3 separate regions of the Homo sapiens genome follow, and regions 1 and 2 are each linked to region 3. Evidence: promoter capture Hi-C in 16 types of primary human blood cells and fetal thymus (Javierre and others, 2016). All regions are on one chromosome and are shown on one strand. The core of a region is centred on a gene start or on the middle of the fragment in contact, and the rest is flanking DNA. Distances in the headings are between cores, read along the strand shown.

The links. The method cuts DNA at HindIII sites, captures the fragments that hold promoters and counts their contacts. A CHiCAGO score of 5 or more calls a contact.
Region 1: the fragment with the promoter of EPHX3 here is called in contact with the fragment with the promoter of LINC00661 in region 3 in 4 of 17 cell types (total CD4 T cells, neutrophils, non-activated CD4 T cells and 1 more); the score reaches 7.8 in total CD4 T cells.
Region 2: a contact is called between the fragment with the promoter of SYDE1 here and the fragment with the promoter of LINC00661 in region 3, in 1 of 17 cell types (total CD8 T cells). The highest score is 5.1, in total CD8 T cells.

What each region holds. Positions count from the first base shown.
Region 1 is chr19:15,230,936-15,234,099 of GRCh38, forward strand. EPHX3 (epoxide hydrolase 3) reads right to left here and starts at 1,513. Exons shown (of 7, transcript NM_024794.3): 1 at 1,034-1,513; 2 at 841-926; 3 at 304-461; 4 at 27-155. The coding sequence starts at 1,276. RefSeq lists an enhancer at 1,263-1,764 and a silencer at 2,103-2,262. The HindIII fragment of the contact is 10,766 bases long and covers 1-3,164 here.
Region 2 is chr19:15,105,818-15,108,761 of GRCh38, forward strand. It overlaps SYDE1 (synapse defective Rho GTPase activating protein 1), which reads left to right and starts at 1,584. Exons shown (of 8, transcript NM_033025.6): 1 at 1,584-1,704. The coding sequence starts at 1,617. The HindIII fragment of the contact is 2,464 bases long and covers 1,126-2,944 here.
Region 3 is chr19:16,014,245-16,017,540 of GRCh38, forward strand. It overlaps LINC00661 (long intergenic non-protein coding RNA 661), which reads left to right and starts at 1,390. Exons shown (of 9, transcript NR_026828.1): 1 at 1,390-1,545. LOC105372291 (a long non-coding RNA gene) reads right to left here and starts at 812. Exons shown (of 2, transcript XR_936355.1): 1 at 727-812; 2 at 1-141. The HindIII fragment of the contact is 12,039 bases long and covers 1-3,296 here.

The sequences.
Region 1 (3,164 bases), core at 263-2,762, 780 kb before region 3:
CCAGTGTCCCGGACTCCCACACACACCTTGGTACACCGACATGGGGGCACCACTGACCACAACCATCCGCTCGACCAGGGATGGGTAGTAGATGGAGAAATGCCAGGCAAGGAGGGCACCCCAGTCATGGGCCACAAGGATGCACTTCGAGTAACCTGTGGGAATTCAAGGAGCTCGCATAAGTGAGGTGCCCAGTAGGACTGAAGCAGGGATGGGGGAAGTAGGTTCCAGCAAGGAGAAAGCGGGGGTATGCGTGTGTGCAGGATGAGGGAGGCCACGCCTAGGATGGGGGTATGTCTGCACCCAGGCCTAGGATGACATCTTTGATGTCCACCAGCAGCAGGTCGATTGTGTAGCAGTCCACATCCCGAGGTGCATCCGAGGGGCCATAGCCTCGCAAGTCCACAGCCACAACATGGAAGCGGCTCTGGAACTCCCGGAGCTGGTAACGCCAGGAGAACCTGCCAGGCGGGCGAGGGAGGGAGGCTGAGTCAGGGCCCTCAGGTTGCACCTGCACCCTACGCACATCAGCAACCATTGGCAAACCCTCCTTCCTGCTCTAAACTTCCCCTAAAAGGAGGATGGGGAATCCCAGGCAGAGGCAGAGGCTGAGGCTGAAGCCAGCTACACCCTGAATCCAGGGAACTTCAATCAACCTCAATACCCCTTTGTCCTGTCCCTTCAGGGCCTAGGGATCCTGGGTATGCTGGCTCAGTACCCCTATCCCCATCTATGTTCAGCTTGTCCCGATCTATACAGCCCTCCTCCCTGCCTCTTGGGAGCCCAAGCTCCACCTGCCCCCGAGTCCCGTGGGCCTCAGGCCCCTGGCCCCAGACGTACCAGTTCTCAGGGAAGCCGTGCAGAAACAGCATGAGGGGTCCGTTACCTCGTCCAGCCGAGACATAGTGCAGACGCAGGCCCGAGCTCTAGGGGGAGGGCACAGCCTGAAGCCTGGGGAACCCTCTCTCCCGAGGCTTGAACCGTCTCGACCCCACGCGACCCCGCAGCCCCGATAGCGCCCCCGTGCGATCACCTTGAGGTTCAGGAAACCGTGCTCACCCAGCGAGGGGTCGCTCAGGCAGGCGGGGGACGCGCTCCGACGGCGCCCGCAGCAGCCGCGCCGGGGCCGGCACAGCACGTGCGTGAGCGCTATGCAGCCGTAGACCGCCGCGGCCACCAGCGCCACCGAGAACACCAGGCTCCACATGAAGGCGCGCAGCAGCTTCAGCGACAGGCGCGACGGCGCCAGCAGCGCGGTCACCACCAGCTCCGGCATGTCGCCGCGCTCCGGGACCACGGCGGCGCTGCCGGCCAGGGGCACCTGCAGCAGCGGCGAAGCGGTGTCAGGGCTCAGGGGCCCATCGCCCTTGGCCTGGGGCCCCTCCGTGCCGTCGGGATTTGTGGGACGCGCTGAAGGAAGAGGCGGGCGGCTCCGACAGAAAACAGCCAGAGCGCACCACTCACCTGAGTGCCAGGTAAACACCTGGGCGCGACAGGGACAGGAAACAAGGGTAGGGTGCGGAGGCTGGGGAGGAAGAGGTTGGAAAGGGGGGAAATAAATGGGCGGGGCCTAGCAGGTCCTGTGCGGGGCTTAGGGCCGGGGCGGGGCCCAGGAAGACTCAGCAGCGGGTGGGTGAGGGTCTAAAGGCGGCAATTCCGGGCCGGGTGCGGTGGCTCACGCCTGTAATCCCAGCACTTTGGTAGGCCGAGGCGGGCGGATCACCTGAGATCAAGAGCTCGAGACCAGCCTGGGCAACGTGGTGAAACCCCGTCTCTACTAAAAATACAAAAATTAGCTGGGCGTGGTGGCGGGCGCCTGTAGTCCCAGCTACTTGGGAGGCTGAGGCAGGAGAATCGCTTGAACCCGGGACGTGGAGGTTGCAGTGAGCTGAGATCGCGCCACTGTACTCCAGCCTGGGTCACAACAGGGAAACTCCGTCTCAAAAAAGAAAAAAAAAAAAGGCAATTCCGAGCCCAGACAAACCTTAAGGAGGGGATCCTGGATCTTCAGTTAAGTGGGCGACACCTGGAGTGAGGGGCGGGGCATATGCAGAGTAGGTGCGGCCTACAAGCCAAAAAGGAGAAAGAGTTGGAATGGTGGGCCTGGCTTATGCGGGTGGGCGGGGAGAGGGTGGATCCTAGAGGAGGTGAGGCCTAACATTGGGCGAAGAAGGCGGGAGCCTGGGCCAATGAGCTGACGGTAGGCCGGGGAGGGGGCGGTGGGGTGGGGTGGGCAATGGGCAATGAGACGGAGGGCGGGGCCGGGACCTAATATGGCGGGTCAGGAGGGTCTGGAAGACGAAGAAGAGGGACAGGCAATGCCAGGTCTAGGACTAGGAGGGAGGCGCGGGCGGTATTAGCGGCTGGAGGAGGCTTCGGGAGGCCCGGCCGACGGCCGCCGCCTGGTGCTACCCACCCAGGGGCGCGCGACCCTCCCTTCGGTCTGGCTCCAAAGACCTAGCAGCACTGACTTCACCCAGCTGTGGTTCCAACGGCGGGTCCAGCGGCCTCGGCCCGGCGCCGTCCTCCTGCTGGCCCAACAGGCCCGCCAGCCCGCCCCTGTACGTCTGTGATTGGACGGCGGCGGCCACTGATGTTCAAGCGACAGGTCCTGGCCCGGGAGCCAATCTGCAGGTGTTGAGGCCCAGGCTCCGAGAGCGGGCCGAGGAGGCGTGGATACCCTGATTCCTAGGGGGCAGGCCTGGTTCCCCCGAGGAGGACCCGGCCTATGAATGACTGGAGTTCTGGGGTTCTGGCCGAAAGAGGAAGTGGGACAGGGCCGGGTGTGATGGGGCCTAGAGTCACAGAGCCTTGCGGCCCTGCTGTCCCTGCAAGAAGCCAGCTTCTGGCCAGGCGCGGTGGCTCACGCCTGTAATCCCAGCACTTTGGGAGGCCGAGGCGGGCGGATCACGAGGTCAGGAGATCGAGACCATCCTAACATGGTGAAACCCTGTCTCTACTAAAAATACAAAAAATTAGCCAGGCGTGGTGGCGGGCGCCTGTAGTCCCAGCTACTAGGGAGGCTGAGGCAGGAGAACGGCGTGAACCCAGGAGGCGGAGGTTGCAGTGAGCTGAGATTGCGCCACTGCACTCCAGCCAGGGCGACAGAGCGAGACTCCGTCTCAAAAAAAAAAAAAAAAGCAGCCAGCTTCTTCCTCCTATTT
Region 2 (2,944 bases), core at 334-2,833, 910 kb before region 3:
AGCCGAGCCCAGGAGTTTGAGACCAGTCTGGGCAACATGATGAGACTCTATCTCTACAAAAAGTAGGGAAATTAGCCAGGTATGGTGACACATGCCTATAGTCCCACTTGCTCGGGAGGCTGAGGCAGGAGCATCACTTGAGCCCAAGAGGCTGAGACTGCAGTGAGCTGTGGTGGTACCACTGCACTCCACCTTGGTCTAGTTTTATATATTTTAGGGAGACATGAGACAGCAATCAATATATGTAAGATGCACATGGGTTTGGTCTGGGAAGGCAGGACAACTCAAAAGTAGGGAGAAGGCTTCCAGGTTATAGGTGGATAAGAGAGAAACAATTGCATTCTTTCGAGTTTCTGACTAGCCTTTCTGAATATGCAATTTACAGAGATAGTCACTTATGCCTTAGTCTGGCTTAGTGAAACAAATAGGTAAGGAAGCGATCAGATATGTGTTTGTCTCATGTGAGCAGAGGGACAATTTTGAGTTCTGCCTGTCCTTCATCCATAAGGAATTTCCTTGTAGGCAAATTGTGGGGGAGGTATGTAGCTTTTTTTTTCTTTTCTTTTCTTCTTTTTTTTTAGACGGCATCTTGCTCTGATGACCAGGCTAGAGTGCAGTGGTGCAATTTTGATTCACTGCAACCTCCACCTCCCGTGTTCAAGCAATTTTCCTGCCTCAGCCTCCCAAATAGCTGGGATTACCAGTGCCCACCCACCATGCCTGGCCAATTTTTTTTCTTTTTCATATTTTTAGTAGAGATGGAGTTTCACCATGTTGGCCAGCCTGGTTTCGAACTCCTGACCTCAAGTGATCCGTCGCCTCAGCCTCCCAAAGTGCTAGGATTACAGGAGTGAGCCACCGCGCCCAGCTAGCTTTTTTAACCTTGTAGCTATCTTACTTAGGAATAGAATGGGAGGCAGGTTTGTCCTACACAGTTACCAGTTTGACTTCTTCCTTTTGGCTCAGTGATTTGGAGGTCTCAAGATTTATTTTCCTTTCACAATCACGACATGGTTGTTTTACATCATTACGTTTGGGGATGGTTTGTCAAACAGCAGTAGTAATTGGAATTTGGAGGTGAGAGAATTGAGTGGGGAAAGAGTGGCATGGGGAGACCAAGGAAGAAGCTTGGGGTGGGGTGGGTAGTGGGGACGGTCATTGAAACGAATGACACTACGGCTTGCACCAGGTTGAAGCAGTACCTGGCAAGGAGAGAGAGGATACGTGGAGGCTGCGATTTGGAGACAGACCCAAGAGAACTTCCTGGATGCCATCACCCAGAGTCCCATCCAGGGAGGGTGGGTGAGGTGGAAGACAAGGGATCGGGCCTGCGCCACGATCGTCACGTCCCATCGAAGCTGGAGCGGATCCGGGCACCCGGAGCCCCCATTCCAACCCCTCCCGGCCCCAGGCAACTACATCTCCCAGCATCGCCCGCTCGGGCCGCGGGAAAGGGGAAAAAAAAAAAAAGTTTGGGCCAAGCATTCCCGGAATGTGCTTCCTGCTGGCGCGGGGCGGGGGGCGGGCGGGGAGGCCCGGGCGGGGCGGGGAGGGCGCGGGGCGGCGCGGCCGGAGCCCGGGGCGCGCACTCGGCTCGGCCCGGCCCGGGCCGCAGCATGGCCGAGCCGCTACTCAGGAAAACCTTCTCCCGCCTGCGGGGCCGGGAGAAACTTCCCCGGAAAAAGTCGGACGCCAAGGAGCGCGGTAAGCGGAGATCGGTGGGGAACAGGGGGCGCCGAGCCCCACCCGGCCTGGGAGCGGGGTCCCAGGGCCCCGAGGACAGACGGTGGGGGGGATCAGGGGGAGCCCCCCGCACCCCGCTGCAGACTGGGGTGCCTCCAGCCAGGGGAGGGTAGGGGTCCTGGAAGGAAGGGGCTGGGAGGGAGGGGGGCGCGGACCGTTATGTGCTGCTGGCCGGGGATGCCAGCGCTGCGGGCTCCTTGGGAGGCCCGGGAGGGGGCCTCGCCCACGACAGGAAATGGGGCCGCGACTGAGGGCCTGGAGGGTGGAGGGGAGGAGGGGCTGGGAGGCCGGGACACTGGGGCCCAGTCGGGCTGGGCAAGGGGCATCGGGAGCCCTGGAGGCGCAGGATGGGAGATGGGAGGCGTACTCCTGCAAAGGAAAGAGAGGGGCGGCCCGTCAATCAGAGTAGCTGCCCCCTCCGCCTCCCACCTACTAACAGTGACGGCAACTGCGCCTGCCTTAGCCCCAGGAAACTGTCCCTTTTATACAGATGGGGAAACTGAGGCACGGAGCAATTGGGTCATGTGCCCAGGGCCATCGACTTAAACAGCTCTTTGGACTATGCTACAAACAGAGACCCTAGAGGGTGGACATCAGAGGTGGCCAGAGGAGGAGTTCAGCAGGGTAGCAAGTAAAAACCTTAGAGAAACAGCTGCGTGGGATAGGGGGACCCAGGAAGGAAGGAGTTAAAGGAGGAAGGCCAGACCATTCCATGGACGTACCCCTTCCCCCCAGGCCTTCCCAAAGATTCCCAATGTTCCCAGGGAAGGGAGAAGGGACAGAGATGCCCAAACACAAACACACACAGGAAACAGCCCAGGACATGAGACAGGAGAGGAGGGAGGGAAGGGGAAGTCCCAAAGCATTGAGCGTGGGGGGTCTGGCCTGGGCTGAGGGACAAGGGCCCATCCCAGGATGGCGACAGAGTTTGGAAGACAGGAGGGAGGGTAAAAGGGGCAGGGGACTGGGAGTGACTGTGCTGCAGGGAATAGAAAACCCAGCTCCTCACTCCTGAGCACGTAGTGCCTGCTGTGGGCTGTATACTTTTCCAAAAGGCTCCTGGAAGCCTCCCTGGACATGGAAATCACATCCCCCCATTTCACAGGAGGATACTGAGCCTCAGAGAGGGAAGCGACTTGCCCAAGGCCACGCAGGTGCAAAGCTCCATGCCACGGTTATTGAGAGGGTAGAGGAAGTGGAG
Region 3 (3,296 bases), core at 140-2,639:
CGTAGGGTCAGGAGGGTGAATCTTCTAAGTGATTGACAAGGTGAAGCAAGTCACGTGATCACAGCACAGGGGGCCCTTCCCTCTTAGGTAGCCGAAGCAGAGAGAGAGAAGGCAGCATACGTCAGCGTTTTCTTCTATGCACTTACAAGAAAGATCAAAGACTGTAAGACTTTCACTATTCCTTCTACCGCTATCTACTACAAATTTCAAAGAGGAACCAGGAGTACGGGAGGAACATGAAAGTGACCATTGGAGCACAGCACCACAAGGAGGGGTTTAGGCCTCCGGATGACTGCGGCAGGCCTAGATAATATCCAGCCTTCCACAAGAAGCTGGTGGAGCAGTGTTCCCTGACTCCTCCAAGGAAAGGAGACTCCCTTTCGCAGTCTGCTAAGTAACGGGCGCCTTCCCAGACACTGGCGTTACCGCTTGACCAAGGAGCCCTCAAGCTGCCCTTATGCACGCGTTGACAGAGGGCTCACCTCTTGCCTTCTAGGTCACTTCTAACAATGTCCCTTCAGCACCTGACCCTCTACCCGCCAGTTATTCCTAGGTTATGTTAGTAACGCAACAAAGAGTAATATTAAAAGCTAATGATTAATAATGTTTATAATAATGATTGATAATTGTCCATGATCATCTCTATATCTAATTTGTATTATGACTATTCTTATTCTAACTATTTTCTTTATTATACTGAAACAGTTTGTGTCTTCAGTCTCTCACCTCGGCACCTGGGTAATCCTCCGCCCACAGTCAATAGGGGTCTGCAGCTGGGGCAAGGTCAGCGGGGATCTGATCAGTGAGACCTAGTCAGGTCTCACTGACTGACTAGGCCCTGGGGGTTGGGGCCTGGCCAGCAAGAGTCCAGTAGTTGGGGCGTGTTTGGCGAGGGTCTCATGGTTGGGGTCTGGCCAGCGGGGGTCCCACAGTTGGGGCCTGGTGAGCAGAGATCTGGCAGTTGCAGCCTCGTCCATGGGGGTCTGGCAGTTGGGGCCTGGTCAGCGGGGTCTTATAGTTGGGGCCTGTTTGGAGGGGGTCCAGCAGTTGGGGCCTGGTCAGAGGGGATACGGCAGCTGGGGGTTATTTGGCAGGGATGCAGCAGCTGGGACCTGGTAGGTGGGGTCTGGCGGTTGGGGCCTGGTCAGTGAGGATCAGATCAGTGCGGTCTAGGCAGTGAGGTCTGGACGCTGGGCCTTCATCTGCATGGGTCTCGCAGTTGGGACCTGGTCAGCAGGGGTCTACCAGTTGGGGCCTGGTTGGCGGAATCAGGCAGTTGGGACCTGGTTGTCGGGGGTCCAACAGTTGGGGCCTGGTCAAAGGGGATCCAGCAGTTGGAACCTGGTCAGCAGGGCTCTGGCAGTTGGGGCCTGGTCATTGGGGTCTGGCAGTTGGGGCCTGGTCAACAGGGGTCCAGGAGCTGAGGCCTGGTTGGTGGGCCGTCTAGCAGTTGAGGCCTGGTCATCTGGGCCCGGCATTTGGGGCCTGATCGGCGGGGATCAGAGCAGTGAGGCCTAGTCAGTGAGGTGTGGATGTGGGGGCCTGGTAAGCAGGGGCCCAGCAGTTGGGGTCTGGTCAGCAGGGGTCTCATAAGAAGAGGCCTGGTTGGCAAGGGTCTGGCAGTTGGGGCTCAGTCAGGAGGGGTCTAGGAGTTGGGGCCCAGTCAGTGGGGTCTGGCAGTTTGGGCTTGATCAGTGCAGTCCAGCAGTTGTTGGGGCCTGGTCAGTGGGGGTCCAGTAGCTGGGACATGGTCAGTGGAGTCCAGCGTCCGGGGCCTGGTTGGCAGGGGTCTGACAGTTGGCGCCTGGTTGGTGGGGATCCCATAGTTGGGGCCTGTCAGCAGGGATCCAGCATTTGGGGCCCAGTCAGTGGGGTTCAGCTTTTGGGGCCTGGTGAGTGGGGTTCAGCATTTGGGGCCTGGCCAGCAGGGGTCCAGCAGTTGTTAGGGCCTGGTCAGCGGGGGTCTGATTAGTGAGATCTATTTGGTGGGGTCCATCAGTTGGGACCTAGTCAGTGAGGGCCGTGAGGGCCTTGTCAGTTGCAGCCTTGTTATTGTGGCCTTTGTCAGTGGTGTCTGATGAGCCAGGGCCTGGTCTGTGGGGCCCAGTCAGCAGGACCTGGTCAGTCCACATCTGGTCAGTGGGACCTGGTCATTGTGGGGGTGGTCAGCTAGGACCTGTTCAGTGGGAGCTTAACCATTGGAAGCCTGGCCAGTGGGATCCTGGGTGATCTCAGGCCACGGGTTAGTCCTCGAAGCCTCCGTGATTGCCTCCATCCATGGGGTGGGGGGTGAGTCACAGCACCCCAGTGGGCTTCTGGGAGGAGGAGGTGAGAGGGTGCATTGCATTGAATCCAGCCCTGCCACACAGACCTGGCACTTTACACACTACGCGAGTCACCCCAAGGGGGAAGCCTGGCTTCTGCCCTCTGCCCTCTGCCCTCTGCCCTTTGCCCTATGTCCCTGCCCCATCTGCATCCCCAGGACCACCCAGCATGGAAAGAGCAGAGGCTGAGGAGCACCTATGGGTGCTCTGATGCTGGCCACAGGCCCGGGGGTGACAGTGACAGGGATCCAGGTGCACACCTGAGTGGAGCAGCCAGGCCCAGCTGGAGGAGAGACGTGTTCACCCACACACATGCATCCTCACATACACAGACAAATTGCACGCATACATGTTGACCATTAAGCGGGCAGAGGACGCTGACCCTGGGCCCTGCTGAGCCAGGTAGGGCCCCGTCATGACAGAGGCTGTGAACCCATGCTGTCACTGTGCCAAGTGCCGCCAGCCTACCTCCGTGTCATGGAGCAGTTGGAGACACAGAGGTGCTGTAAGTGGTTGTGCAGAAAGGACCCTTTTCTGGGTGAGAAGCACATCTCAGCACCGCTGCCTGATCAGACTCAGGAAAGCGTGACCTGCTCTCTTCCCCCCTGCTGACTTGGGGACAGTCACAACCAGGTGGGTGGCAGCTACCCGAGGAGGGTCATCCATGAGCACTCACCGGGTGCCCGTTCTATGCTGACCATGCAAACAGTCGTCTCCTTCATCCTCACGGCGACTCCATGGCGGGGTGGAGGGGTGCTTTCCTCAAATGTACCCACTGAATAGGTGAGACGCCTGAGGTCAGAGGGGCAGTAACTGGCCCAGAGACCCAGACGTGGCCCTGGGCCATGCTCTCAGCCCTGGCCTGTGCCATGCTGAACTCAAGCCTTGACCTCTGTGACCTCCGTGTTCTGGATTGCACATCTGCCTGGGGTTTCTGACCCCAGTGGAGCTGAGCCTCGCCCTAGAAGAGCC